5 separate regions of the Homo sapiens genome follow, and regions 2, 3, 4 and 5 are each linked to region 1. Evidence: promoter capture Hi-C in human tissues and cell types (Jung and others, 2019). All regions are on one chromosome and are shown on one strand. Each heading gives the region's core, a stretch centred on a gene start or on the middle of the fragment in contact. The rest is flanking DNA. Distances are from core to core; before and after follow the strand shown.

Region 1 (2,695 bases), core at 85-2,584:
AAGTGGGAAGTAAGGGGCCCCAAGAAGTGGAAATGTATATTTAACGTTGAGGAAAGGGGAGATAGTTCAAAAAGAACCTAACATTCTTCTCTCCAGACTGTGCCTGCAGCAGGACTAGAAACCTACTGGTTTCACTTTAGTATTTCTCTCCTCATTTTCTCTCTGCTCCCCTCAGCCTCCATCCTTCCATCTGTTTGTATTGGTAGCTGGAGACACACTACAGGATGGGGTTGAGAGGAAGGGGTGTTCCAAGTTAGCTGGGGAGAGTTAATTGGAAAATATGAGGGTGGGGTGAGGACAGATAACAATAATAACGATCAAAAGAACTCCTCAGTCCAGGGCTGTGAGATGGCCCTCTTATTCATCACTCCTTTCCAGCCCACTAATCTATTTCCTGTGTCACTCACAGCTGACATGTCCAACCAGCCATTGTCACTAGTCATATGCACGCCCCCAAACATCACAAACCCACACCAGGCTGAAGTCCAGGGGACAGGAACTTTAAAAGAAAACAGAAACTCAGTGGATAAAGGTGAGCCAGCAACACAAAAAGGAGCAACTTCTGTCCCCCAAATAGGTAGAACAAAAAGTTTTTTTTAATGTTCATCTCCCTGAAAAATTCCTGGTTGAAACTAATCCATGTTTTCTCCAAATGCAATTCTTCCAGCTTTCTAAGGGTGGGGGTAAATTGTCCCCAAAGATATACCTGGAGAACCCTAAAATACACCCCACAAAGAAAATCCGTAACAGCTGTAAACGTTCTTCATGTCCGAAAGAAAGTTTTGGGCACCTAAGATGTAGGTGTGTAGCCTGATTCAGATGTTCACATGATGGGGCGGAGAGCGGGTGTCCCATCCCCTACTCTGTAGGGCTCTAGAGTTCCTTGACATTCTACACCTTGGAAGGTCCCCCTTCCTCCCCAGGGATTCAGCGTCGTAAAGGCCTTTGGATTTGCGTAGGGGAGAGAGGGAAGACGTGTAGGGGACACGTCTTGCCTGGGAGCGAATAAGCAGATTTCAGCTCCCTTGAAGGGATCAGCTTTATAGAGACGCATTGAGAAGAAGGAGAGGACGACGAGGGGGCGCCCCCCACCCCCAATCAGAGTCCCCTTGAAACCAAGAACTCCCCAAACAGCGGGGGTGGCTTCTCCAGTACGGAAAGGGTTACAACCCAAACGCTCCTGTATTCCCCTTCGACAGTTCCCTTACGTTATCCTTCCCCAAACTGGAAAGTGGGGTGACCCTCCCCTCCCATAAGATCGCCCCCAATTAGGCCAAGTTTCTTACCCAACAGACGGATCAGCTGTTCCCCTCACCTTTCACCAACAACAAAAACAGCACTCCGACTTCTGGAGGGGAGGGAGAAGAGTGGGCGCGAGGGCTTCTGGGGTTTGTGGTTCTTCTGCGCCCTTTTGCCGCTGCGTGCTCGGATCTAGGACTATACATCCCAGAAGGCTGCGCGCAAGGAGGGCGGGGAAGAGGGCGTCCGTGACGGCGGCCTCACCGCGGCATCCTGGGAGGCGTAGTTCTCACTCCTATGACAGAAAACGAGGGTGTGGCCAGCAAAGGACTTCAAGGCCCATGATCCCTTAGGAGGGGGCCGGCTGCATTAGGGGTGGCTGCTGGTTTGTAACGTGCGTTGTTGGGGGCTGGGGAGGATTTACGGCTCTAAAGCCTTCCATATAACGCTTTAACGGTGGGCAGAGCGGTTTCTGTTGCGTCCCGTCCTGTACTTTTCGCACCCACCTGTGAGATAGGCGTTAAGCGTTATGCACGCTTTATAGATGTAGAAAGTGAAGTACGGTTAAGGAGGCGGTGTGAAGTGTCAAAGCTATGAAATGTAGAACTGCATTAGCCTTGGCTAATTCCACGTCATATATTCTTGCCACTACACCACAGCTACCCACCATTTTGGGGATGGGAAACTGATAGCTGGGGTATAGCAGTTTCTTCTTTACTTCAATCTCAGGGACAGACCTTGTAAGAATGATGTCTTCTGCACAGCTGACCATTTTTTTCCAACTTGAGGATTTCAGTGCTAAGGGGCCTGACCATATCCACATCTGGACTGGGCTCCCCCAGAGTGGCTTCTGGGTCTAGGAAGAGGATACAATTGACTGAGGTGGTGGTAGGAGCGGTGGAATGAGAAGAATGAAATTGAAAAGGGAGCTTGGCATAATTCAGGACCTGTCACAATTCACAAACAAGCCACTTATGGGGCCTGTTTGCCCAAGCCTTTTAAGTGGCTTAAATTAATTAGGATAACAATACATGTTGACGTTCCGGTTTTTATTTAGGAGAGGTGAAAGATTGACACGTCTCCCACACCCCAAGTCACGTTATAGACTTGGGCATCCTGTCCCCCCTCTCGCTATTCTCCATCCCTGTAGTCGGAGGCATTCAGAATTACCTCTTTCTCTGGCTCTGCATTAAAGGATTACAGTCTTAAGGATTGATTTCCTCTTCCTAGGTGCCTGCTTTAATTCTCTACTGCACTAAGTTATGGAGCTTCTGCCTTTTCCAAGTTTTTTGGTAGTGTTTTGCTTTTATGACTGAATGCGGTGTCTGCCCTCAGTGTCTTTCATCTGAAGATCTCCAGGCACTTAAAAATTAGTTACTGGGCTGCACAAACATTAAGGTGATGTGTCTGTGTCATTAGTCAGGATTTATGAGTTAGGGAACCAGTTTCTGGATGA
Region 2 (2,695 bases), core at 104-2,603, 250 kb before region 1:
TCTCTGTCAGCTTTTTCTTCACCATAGCAGTTTTTAAGTAGCTCTGTGGAATGGAAATATACATATTTAGAGGGTGGGACATAGGCTAAAAGAAAGCTTGTCACAAGTTGACACTAGGTCTTCCTAATTGTCAACCAGAGGCACTTACTGATATAACTGAAGCAGTTTTTGTCCTGTACTTACTCCCTTTTGTGGTCTTCCCTTCCACCCACCCTTTTTTTTTGTTCCTTTTTTCCTCTGTTACAGTTTAGAAAACGCTAAACCCTCCTCCCAGGCAGCCTCCGTCACGATCCCTGATCACCTCAGCATCAACCTCTCTCAACCCTCCACCCCTTCTTCTTCTTCCTCCTCCACCACCACCCCCTCGCTCGCCACAGCGGGGACCTCCGACGCACCCTCCAGCCTCCCCAACCCTCTTCCGACCGCCCCTTGTGTCTCCAGTCTGCTTGGCATGAAACCCATCCCTCTCCTGGCTCTAAATGTTGTGTCTGCTGCTAAGGGTACCGGGGCTTCAGCTACCACCACCACCACCTCTGCCGTGCCATGTGTAACTAACAAACTGAAAGGCGAGAAACAGAGATTCTCTCCCTACTGATTGCATACCTTGAGGCACCTCCTCCAGTATTATTTTGTTCATTTTGTTTTCCTTTGTTAACATTGGTGAGAATGAAACTATTGTGAGCTTGTTACCGTTTCCTTTTTACTACTTTGGGGGATAACTGGGTGGGGGTGGGGGAGTGGTAACCCTTGTTTAGGTTTAGGCCATTTCAGCTGAGTGCCTGTTTCAGGGTCTGACTTGAATTCTTTATCTAGAGCCACAGTTTTCTCTTCTTTCTTGTTTGTTACTTTTCTTTGTAGCTTTATTCTGCCTTGCAATATAACAATGTGTTAGGCTCTGTGTTAATGAATAAAAGCTGCTTCGTTAACTTTTTTTTTTTTTTTTAAGAATTATTTAATGGTTAAGCTATCAGCAGGCCTTCTTGGCCATATTTGTGTTTCTAGCTGTAATAAAGTTGGCGCAGTAAGAACCTTAGTACACTGTGTGCTGTGAAGGGTAAAGGGTTGGGGGCTTGTGACTTGTGGCTATTCAGCTAGGAAGCCTGTATAACTGACATGGGCTTTTTGAATCCCAAGTGAATTTTATAGTCGTTTGTCAATATTTCCACAAAGAGATAACGAGTCTGTGGCAGTTTAGATCCTGAAGGTCCTCTGTAATTGGCAACAAGCTTCACTAGTGAGGAAGTTTATCTGACTTCTCAGATGGCCTTACCTTGCCAGCAGCAGCTAACAAGGTGTTCATCCCAGGATTCCTCTGGTGAATGGTTACCATGAGGATCTCTTCCAAGTCATACATTCAAAGAACATACTTCTTTACCCAGAATGAAGGGGAGGGGCAAAGTGGGATAAGTCTAATAAAATTAGGCAGCTTCTGTCTGCATTCCTCTGAATTAGCATTATGCCTCTTTCTGTGACATTAGGTATATCTCAGCCAACCCGTGACATTATCCACAACTTGACATGATGCCATCCACTAGTCCTAAACCAACTCTGTCAACCAAGTTTCTTTACCCTTTTTTCTATTCCTGGCCGTATCCTTTCTGCTCCCCACCAGCACTATCAGGAGTAGGAAGTGACATGCTTAGATTTGGAAGGAACCTTAAGGATCAACTAATCTGTAACACATTGATCCCCTCATTTTACAGATTAAAAAATAGAGGCCCTAAGATAATTTAAATTCATAGGTTATGAGTGACTAGCCAGGACTAACAACTTAAGCTTTACTTTTACTCAATCGTACTAACCTCCCTGAAATCTTGTTCATTTTCTTATACTAAGATGGGCACAGGCCTCTCATAAAACAGTAGAAATGTTCTTAGTATGGTGGTATAAGGCCTCTGATAGCCTTCCATTCAACGAGAGTACACGTTGCCACAGTGCTGAAAGTGTAATGCTCTTCCCAGGGCATTAGAGAACTCAGTGTAGAGATAGTTTCCCTGATGACCTTTTCCCAGCATCACCATTGGCTGACAAAAAAAAAAAAGCTGTTAGTATTCCAATATATTATCTCATTCTTTGATGTTATTTTGGCCCCTCCATCCCAGATTGGGCCTGTGAAGAAGTGTTACACGTCTCAAGTATGCATAAAGGATTAGATGGCCAAACCTGTCCAGTAAGGAGTTTTATTTAGTTGCTCCTTTATCATGTGGTCCAGCTCTCTCCCTTGGTAAGCTTGCTCCTCCTGTAGTTAGGACTTAATCATGCTGATACCATCTCCCCCCAGGGATGTGGTTTTATCTAGTTCTTGATTGGAAGGCCTCTTAACCTAATGGCTATTCCCCAAGGAAGGATTCCACATGTTTAAGGGTCTAGCTACCATCACTACCTCCAAAGGGCCTCAGTTTTAAATTTTTTTAAACCCTAGAGCTCCCCCATGTGGTCTTTTATCCTAGAGTACCTGACTCAGTATTTCATAGCATCCCCTTCTCCCTGCGTCACCTCCCCCACCCCAGCAAATCCCCATTCGGGCTTGATACACATTCAGAACATTTCTTTCAGAGCTCTGGTGGGGCCAGAGTGCTACCACCAATTTTTATGAACTTAAATTTTCAGGTCCTAGATCTAATGGTATCTAGCAGTTCCTTTCTTAGACCTTCAGTTCTTACTGAACCCTTTAATCCAGGGCTATTGTTTACCT
Region 3 (2,695 bases), core at 81-2,580, 210 kb before region 1:
CTAGAAGTGCCAAGGGTTAGTGTTAAAAGAGACAGATACACGTGCATGGGGCAGGGGTGATTGTTCGGACCATCTGGAAAGGCCTTTGGCTGTGGATGCATCAGAAACCCCACCCTGGGGGATGATCTATGAGGCTCCGGGGCTGGGAGGCCCCCAGCACAGGTGTCAAACGTACATGACCACATGGCTAAAAAGCCCCATATCTGTCCATTACTCACAACACACAATTCCCCCCACCCATATTGCCATGTCCAAGGCAGATGGGAGGGGATAAGATGACATCTCTCTTGGCTCTTGGGCGGGCGAGCTCTGGCTGAGGACCTCTCCACCAGAGGAGGCATCATCTGCCCGCAGACTGGGACTGTGGGGTCATGATTACATGCGATTGTATCGGCATGCTCAGTTCTGTCCTTTGGCTGGCCATCTGAGTGAGGACCGAGGTGGCCACAGCTTCAGCTGCAGAGCGAACACTGAGGCCATTGCTAGGGGCTGTTGCTGAGCTGTGCTGAATCACAGGGGCTGGAGAACCCGTTGGCTCTGAGCTTTCCTTGGGGCTTTCTGCCAGGAAGGAGGGCAAAGAGCAGAGAGCAATTGGTTAGAAAACAGAATGGGGAAAGAGGCAGGACTACCTTTTGCCATAATTCTAAAGGAGCCCAAAAGGGAAATGAAACCCATCTTTTTTTTGGGGAAAACTTCCCAGAATCCTGGCTTCTAAGTCATAAATGGGCTAGGAAATGGGAAGTTGTAAGAAGGGAAGAACTAGGCCAAAATTAACCTATCTATTCCAATAAAATGAATCTCCAACATGTTAATTACACTGTCTGGTTTCTAGGTCTTTGCATAGTTCATTACCAACTCTTATTATTATTCATTACTTCTATTCTTTCTTGTTTTTAAGAGATAGGGTCTCAAGTGATCCTCCTGCCTTGGCCTCTCAAAGTGCTGGGATTATAGGCATGAGCCACTGCGCCTGGCCTTCATTTCTTTAAAGATGATTTAAAATAGATCTCTTTTTAGCCATCCTCTTTGATTAATTCTCACAGGAACTGAATTATTCCATTATTTTATTTATTTATTTTTTTTCCTAAGACTGAGTCTTGCTCTGTTGCCCAGGCTGGAGTGCAGTGGTGCAATCTCAGCTCATTGCAACCTCTGCCATCCAGGTTCAAGTGATTCTCGTGCCTCAGCCTTCCGAGTAGCTGGGACTACAGGTGCACACTGCCACACCTGGCTAATTTTTGAATTTTTAGTAGAGATGGGGTTTTGCCACGTTAGCTAGGCTGGTCTCAAACTCCTGACCTCAAGTGATTGGCCTGCCTTGGCCTCCCAAAGTGCTGGGATTATAGGCGTGAGCCACTGTGGCAGGCCTATTCCATTATTTTTAATGTTCCTTTACCATGTAGTTGTACCACAGGTAAGTCTGATAGATATCAAGCTATAATTAAATGATATTATGAATGGCCAGTCCCTGGCCCGGGTTCAGTTAACATGTAAAACTACAAAGAAATCTTAAGACCCTCCTGACTAAAAATTAGCTAGGCATTAATGATTATAAAACATTATAAGTTATGCCACTCCACCTAAAGTGACACTAACATTTTACTACTAAACACAACTACCTGAGCTACATACAATGGTAACTCCATGTTGCTCATTAGTCAAATGTTTTTAAAATTTTTTTAGAGGGTCTCACTCTGTCACCCAGGCTGGAGGTGCCATGGCACAATCACAGCTCACAGCAGCCTTCAACTGCTGGCCTCAAGCCATCCTCCTGCTTCAGACTCCCAAATTGCCGGGATTACAGGTATGAGTCATCACACTCAGCAAGTCAAGGAGTTTTATTAAACATCGGATAGCCTCTATGGCTGCTTAAACAGAAATATGTGGAAAAAAGGCAAACGTTCCATAGTCAGTTGTATTTCTGACATCCTGATGAATGCCTGAGTCTTCTTTTAAGATTCAAATATGGCCGGGCGCAGTGGCTCACGCCTGTAATCCCAGCACTTTCAGAGGCCAAGCTGGGCGGATCAGGAGGTCAGGAGATCGAGACTACCCTGGCTAACATGGTGAAACCCCGTCTCTACTCAAAAAAAAAAAAAACCAAAAAATTAGCTGGGCATGGTGGCGGGCGCCTGTTGTCCCAGCTACTTGGGAGACTGAGGCAGGAGAATGGTGTGAACCCGGGAGGCAGAGCTTGCAGTGAGCCGAGATTGTGCCACTGCACTCCAGCCTGGGCAACAGAGCGAGACTCCGTCTCAAAAAAAAAAAAAAAAAGATTCAAATATTGCGTCCTCTGTGAAGCCATCTTTGTTACCCTCAGTACATTAACTGTTTTATTCTTTGTGTTTTCACAGCATATATTCATCAAACATTTTACTGAGCATCATCCATGTACCAGGCATGGGTACACAGAGAAGAAAACGGGAACCCTATCCTTAGGAAGCTCCCAGTTTAGGGGCTTTTTAACTGGGATATCTATCCTTACCTCATCCACAGGTTTATATGACCCTATGATTCTCTCAGAGGTAGTGACAGTGTCTTATTCATCATGTGTCAGGTACTTACATAATATCTATACCACACAGCAGGAACTAAATACATCTTTGCTATAATGAATATGTAAGGCCGGGTGCGGTGGCTCACACCTGTAATCCTAGCACTTTGGGAGACAGAGGTGGGCAGATCACATGAAGCC
Region 4 (2,695 bases), core at 132-2,631, 160 kb before region 1:
CAGATCACCTGAGGTCAGGAATTCAAGACCAGCCTGGCCAACATGGTGAAACCCCGTCTCTACTTAAAAAATACAAAAAATTAGCTGGGTGTGGTGGTACGCACCTGTAATCCCAGCTACTCGGGAGGCTGAGGCAGGAGAATCACTTGAACCCAGAAGGCCGGTGAGCCGAGATTGTGCCACTGCACTCCAGCCTGGGGGACAAGAGCGAAACTTCATCTCAAAAAAAAAAAAATTTTTTTTTGCCCATGTGTGCAATGGTGGGACAATTTTCATCATCCATATCCAAAAGGAGAGTTGGTATCTATCTTAAACACCAGCTTTTTCCTACGGAACCAGAGGCTGGGCCCAGTCAGGACCAAGAATACCCTAATGCAAGGATGCAAGAAGATCAGAGTAAGAAACAAATAGAATTTCAAAAATTGTAACCACAGGAAAAAGACAAAATGGCAGCAATGGGGATTTAAATCATTAGGAAGGATTTGACTCTTGGGGGTGGGGTGGGTTTGAAATCATTCCCAAAGGAGATTTTAAAGGAATGTAAAATACATTACCTTTCTGTCCTCTTGTCCTTGTTTATGATTTTATTTTCTGCTATTCTTCTACTAACACTTTCTACCCAGGTCAGTCTCTTACTGATCTGCGAAGTCTATTTATTTTCAATTTTGTGCCTCCACACACATTCCCATATTCCTTGAAATGTGTTCCTCTCTCCATTGTTTACTGGAATACTACCATTTTTCTAGGCCCAGCTGAAATCCAATAGCTTTTTGAAAGCTTCTCTAATGACTCCAATCTTCAGTGATCTATCTTTCTTGAACTTGTATAGTATTCAAATGGAAATTTATTTATATAATTATACATATAGAATTTTAGTCTATATGGTCTCACAATTTTTATCTTTTTAAAGTAGACTGTATGGGCAGGCGCAGTGGCTCACACCTGTAATCCCAGCACTCTGGGAGGCTGAGGCGGGAGAATTGCTTGACCCCAAGAGTTTGAGACCAGTCTGGGCAACAAGGTGAAACCCCACCTCTACCGAAAAGAAAAAAAAAAAATTAGCCAGGTGTGGTGGTGTGTGCCTGTAGTCCCAACTAGGAAGGCTGAGGTGGGAGGGATCACTTGAACTGGAGGCAGAGGTTGCAGTGAGCCAAGATTGTGCCATCGCACTCCAGCCTGGGCAACAGAACAAGGATGTCTCAAACAAAGTAGACTGTAAACTACTAGAGGGTTAAAAACATGTCTCACACTTATTTTTTATCCTTTTCACCTGCCCCACCTCTGGGCTTGCCCAGTTTGGCACTCAATAAATTATTGCTTCAGTGATTGGGTAAAGTTTTATATAGTGACATAAGAGTAACTGTTGAAAAGCTTTATCACTCTTGGATTCTCAGACCTTAACATGGCACACTTTCAGAAAGATCTGATGGCTTTCCAACTCCATTTGCAAAGTAAATTTCACTGTTCAAATCAGTGAGAATTAGTGTATCCTCTTGCCTACTTTTTTTGATACCAGATTCCCTTTATTACAGAAAGGCACCTAAGACAATTACAGTATGCTAGAGTTATACTGCTGTTGTATGAAAGGACACTGGTGCCATGGTCTTTGTGGGTCAATTCACTTTCTTAGGGTATCTGATTCCAGCACTGAATTTTATTACCAATTAAAATGTCCTGTGAGGCCAGATACAGTGGCTTATGCCTGTAATCCAGCACTTTGGGAGGCTGAGGTGGGCAGATCACTTGAGGCTAGGCGTTTGAGACCAGCCTGGCCAACATGGCAAAACCCTGTCTCTACTAAAAATATAAAAATTAGCTGGACATGGTGGTGCATGCCTGATAATCCCAGTTACTTGGGTGGCTGAGGCACAAGAATCACCTGAACCCAGGAAGTGGAGGGTGCAGTGAGCTGAGATCACACAACTGCATTCCAGCCTGGGCGACAGAGCAAGACTCTGTTTCAAAATATAAACTAAACTCAACTAAAATACCTTGTGCAAAAAAATGTGAATTTACAAGCCATTCCCTTTTAAGTTCCTTCTTCAATCCCCAAACCACTAGTGGTAATTTTAACCACATCCTTTTGAGCATTTTCTTTTAAGATCTCAATTATTTGAATTTTACAGGCAGAATATGAGCATATGAGCATCTCATAGGTGTCAAACAGTGTCAAGAACTGGATTCCTCCTTTAAAAAATCGTACACTCCAGTATCTGACAAAAGGAAAAGTATGTTACAATTAAATCAACAAGCTAGTTAGAGGGGAACAGAAAAAGAATTTTAAACCCATAGTCAACACTGAGTTGTTGGGTCTTCATCGTTATGATCTGGGTTTAATAGCAATGCATTATTATTCTACATCAAACTTGTCCAACCTTTGGCCTGCAGACCACATGCAGCCCGGAATGGCTTTCAACATGGCCCAACATAAATTCGTAAGCTTTCTTAAAACATTATCAGATTTTTTGGCGATTTTTTTTTTGTTTAGTTCATCAGCTATTGTTGGCGTTAGTATATTTTTATGTGTGGCCCAAGACAATTCTTCTTCCAATGTGGCCCAGGGAAGCCAAAAGATTGTACACCTCTGTTTTACATTATACAGACCAATGGTATAACTATTCCTCTAAGTACCTAAGTTTTAAGCCCTCAGCCATACTGCAATACTTGCTTCTATTTTGGTTCCTTGTTCCTTCCT
Region 5 (2,695 bases), core at 119-2,618, 140 kb before region 1:
AGCTTCATCTGTATTTACAGCCACTCCCCATCACTTGCATTACAGCCAGAACTCTGCCTTCTGTCAGATCAGTCGCAGCATTAGATTCTCAAAGGAGTCCCAACCCTACTGTGAACTGTGTATGTGAGGGATCTAGGTTGTATGCCCCTTATGAGAATCTAATGCCTGATGATCTGTCACTATCTCCCATCACCCCCAGATGGGACCATCTAGTTGCAGGAAAACAAGCTCAGGGCTCCCACTGATTCTACATTATGGTGAGTTGTATAATTATTTCACTATTATATTATAATTTAATAATACTATAAATAAAGTACACAATAAATGTAATTTGCTTGAATCCCCCCCACCCCCAGTCCATGAAAAAAATTCTTCCAGGAAACCAGTCCCTGGTGTCAAAAAGGTGGGGGACCACTGACCTAGATGACTTTTGTATGGCGATGACTTTTTAAATACAACACCAAAGTCATGATCCATGAACTAAGTAATTGATAAGCTGGACTGTGCTAAAATTAGAAATATCTGCTCTGTGAAAGACAATGTCAAGAAAATGTAAAGACAAGCTACAGAATGGGAGAGAATGTAAAAGATACACCTGATAAAGGACTGTCATACAAAATACACAAAGAACTCTTAAAACTGAACAGTAAGAAAATGAACAACCTGATTAAAAAATGGGCAACGGACTTTAGTCAGACACTTCACCAAAGAAAAATACAGATGGCAAATAAGCATGCTCAACATCATGCCATCAGGGAAATACAAATACAGATAATTGTTATTAGTATTATTTTTTGAGACAGACTCTCACTCTGTCACCCAGGCTGGAGTACAGTGGCGTGATCTTGGCTCACTGCAACCTCCGCCTCCCAAGTTCAAGCGATTCTCCTGGCTTCAGCCTCCTGAGTAGCTGGGACTACAGGCACTTGCCACCACGCCCAGCTAATTTTTGTATTTTTAGGAGAGACGGGGGTTTCATCATATTGGCCAGGCTCTTCTCGAACTCCTGACCTCAGGTGATCCACCCGCCTTGGCCTTCCAAAATGCAGGGATTACAGGTGTGAGCCACCCGGCAGGCATTAAATTGTTGTTTAATGCAAATTAAAACAACAAAATCCATTACACACCTATTAGAGTGGCCAAAATCCAAAACACTGACAACATTAAATGTTGATAAGGATGTGGAGCAACAAGAACTCTCATTCATTTTTGGTGGGAATGCTAAATAATATAGCCACTTTGGAAGACAGTTTGACAGTTTCTTACAAAACTAAACATAGTCTTACCATAAACATAGTATTACCATATGATCCAGTGATCACACTCATTGATATTTACCCAAATGAACAGAAAACTTATGTCCACACAAAAGCCTGCACATGGATATTTATATAGCAGCTTTCTTTACTCATAATTGCCAAATCTCGGAAGCAATGAAGATGTCCTTCAGCAGGTGAATGGATAAATTGTGGTACATTCAGACAATGGAATATTACTCAGCACTAAAAAGAAATAAGGTATCAAGCCATGAAAAGATAAGGAAGAAACTTAAATGCATATTACTAAATGAAAGAAGCTAGTATGAAACGGCCTTATATTGTATGATTCCAACTAAACAACATTCTGTAGACGGCAAAACTACGGAGACAGTAGTTTTGGCAAGATCAGTGCTTGCCAGCGGTCAGTGGGAAGTGAGGGATGAACAGGCAGAGCACAGAGGATATTTAGGACAGTGAAACTATTCTGTATGATACTACAATGGTGGATACGTGTCATTTTATATATTGATTTGACAGGAGTTCACTCTGTTGCCCAGGCTGGTGTGCAGTGGCACAATCATGGCTCACTGCAGCCTTGACCTCCCGGGCTCAAGCAGTCCTCCCACCTCAGCCTCCTGAATAGCTGGGACTACAGGTGCACATTACCACACCTGGCTAATTTTTAATTTTTTTTTTGTAAGGATGGGGTCTCACTATGTTGCCTAGGCTGGTCTTGAACTCCTGGGCTCCAGCAATCCTCCTGCCTCGGCTTCCCAAAGTGTTGAGATTACAGGCATGAACCACTGTGCCCGGCCTCATTATATATTTGTTAAAACCTACAGAATTTGTAATACCAAGAGTGAATTCTAATATAAACTATGGACTTGGGTGATAATATGTCAATGCAGGTTCATTGAATGTAACAAATTAGCATTGTGGTTCAGTATGTTGACAGTGGGGGAGGCTAGTGTGTGTGAGGACAGGAGGTATATGAGAATCCTCTGCACTTTTCACTCAATTTTGCTGTGAATCTAAAACTGCTCTAAAAAAAATAGTTTCTTAATTTAAAAAAAAGCAAAGGAAGAGCATAAATGAAAAAAGAAAAGACTGAAAACCACTAAGTAAATGTGAATAGCTTCTTGCATATTCATTCTCATACAGTGCTCAGAAAAGACAGAAAACCAAAGCATAGCAGAAAGTCCAGCTTCCAAGCAGGAACTGGTGTCTCCTTGACAGAGCTTCAATCCAATTATGCCCCAGACACTGATTTTTCTATCACTACCTCCCCTTTGTTTCAGAGACAGTATCCATGACCTTCTGTTCATGCGGTGGAGGAAGAAATTGCTTCCCAGAAAGGCTTAGCCCACTCCATTCTACTAGATAAAGGAAAAACAAAAAGCCACTCCACTCTGACAAGCCGATTACTGTCTATGGAG

What was found. Contacts are between HindIII fragments. The study calls those that stand out against the background at their distance.
Region 2: a fragment that was not itself captured here is called in contact with the fragment with the promoter of CALCOCO1 in region 1 in 2 of the 25 tissues and cell types used here (adrenal gland and dorsolateral prefrontal cortex).
Region 3: a contact is called between a fragment that was not itself captured here and the fragment with the promoter of CALCOCO1 in region 1, in 1 of the 25 tissues and cell types used here (IMR-90 fibroblasts).
Region 4: a contact is called between a fragment that was not itself captured here and the fragment with the promoter of CALCOCO1 in region 1, in 3 of the 25 tissues and cell types used here (IMR-90 fibroblasts, dorsolateral prefrontal cortex and lymphoblastoid cells).
Region 5: a fragment that was not itself captured here is called in contact with the fragment with the promoter of CALCOCO1 in region 1 in 2 of the 25 tissues and cell types used here (liver and mesenchymal stem cells).

Annotation. Positions count from the first base shown.
Region 1 is chr12:53,726,118-53,728,812 of GRCh38, forward strand. It overlaps CALCOCO1 (calcium binding and coiled-coil domain 1), which reads right to left and starts at 1,335. Exons shown (of 15, transcript NM_020898.3): 1 at 1,287-1,335. LOC105369774 (a long non-coding RNA gene) reads left to right here and starts at 462. Exons shown (of 3, transcript XR_944973.3): 1 at 462-532. RefSeq lists enhancers at 1-110, 1,428-1,487. The HindIII fragment of the contact is 5,999 bases long and covers 1-2,695 here.
Region 2 is chr12:53,474,623-53,477,317 of GRCh38, forward strand. All of the region lies in intron 14 of PCBP2 (poly(rC) binding protein 2), which reads left to right. Among named protein-coding and RNA genes, the nearest start is that of PCBP2-OT1, 12 kb to the left of the region's middle. The HindIII fragment of the contact is 4,559 bases long and covers 1-2,695 here.
Region 3 is chr12:53,516,797-53,519,491 of GRCh38, forward strand. It overlaps ATF7-NPFF (ATF7-NPFF readthrough), which reads right to left. Exons shown (of 15, transcript NR_159377.1): 12 at 219-558. ATF7 (activating transcription factor 7) reads right to left here. Exons shown (of 12, transcript NM_006856.3): 12 at 1-558. The coding sequence ends at 341. ATF7-AS1 (ATF7 antisense RNA 1) reads left to right here. Exons shown (of 3, transcript NR_046221.1): 3 at 1-812. Among named protein-coding and RNA genes, the nearest start is that of ATF7-AS1, 4.2 kb to the left of the region's middle. RefSeq lists an enhancer at 293-792. The HindIII fragment of the contact is 5,161 bases long and covers 1-2,695 here.
Region 4 is chr12:53,562,414-53,565,108 of GRCh38, forward strand. The region is part of intron 2 of ATF7-NPFF (ATF7-NPFF readthrough); the gene reads right to left. The region is part of intron 2 of ATF7 (activating transcription factor 7); the gene reads right to left. All of the region lies in intron 2 of LOC124902937 (a long non-coding RNA gene), which reads left to right. Among named protein-coding and RNA genes, the nearest start is that of ATF7-AS1, 50 kb to the left of the region's middle. The HindIII fragment of the contact is 4,567 bases long and covers 1-2,695 here.
Region 5 is chr12:53,583,202-53,585,896 of GRCh38, forward strand. The region is part of intron 2 of ATF7-NPFF (ATF7-NPFF readthrough); the gene reads right to left. The region is part of intron 2 of ATF7 (activating transcription factor 7); the gene reads right to left. LOC124902937 (a long non-coding RNA gene) reads left to right here. Exons shown (of 3, transcript XR_007063316.1): 3 at 2,558-2,695. Among named protein-coding and RNA genes, the nearest start is that of ATF7, 42 kb to the right of the region's middle. The HindIII fragment of the contact is 4,179 bases long and covers 1-2,695 here.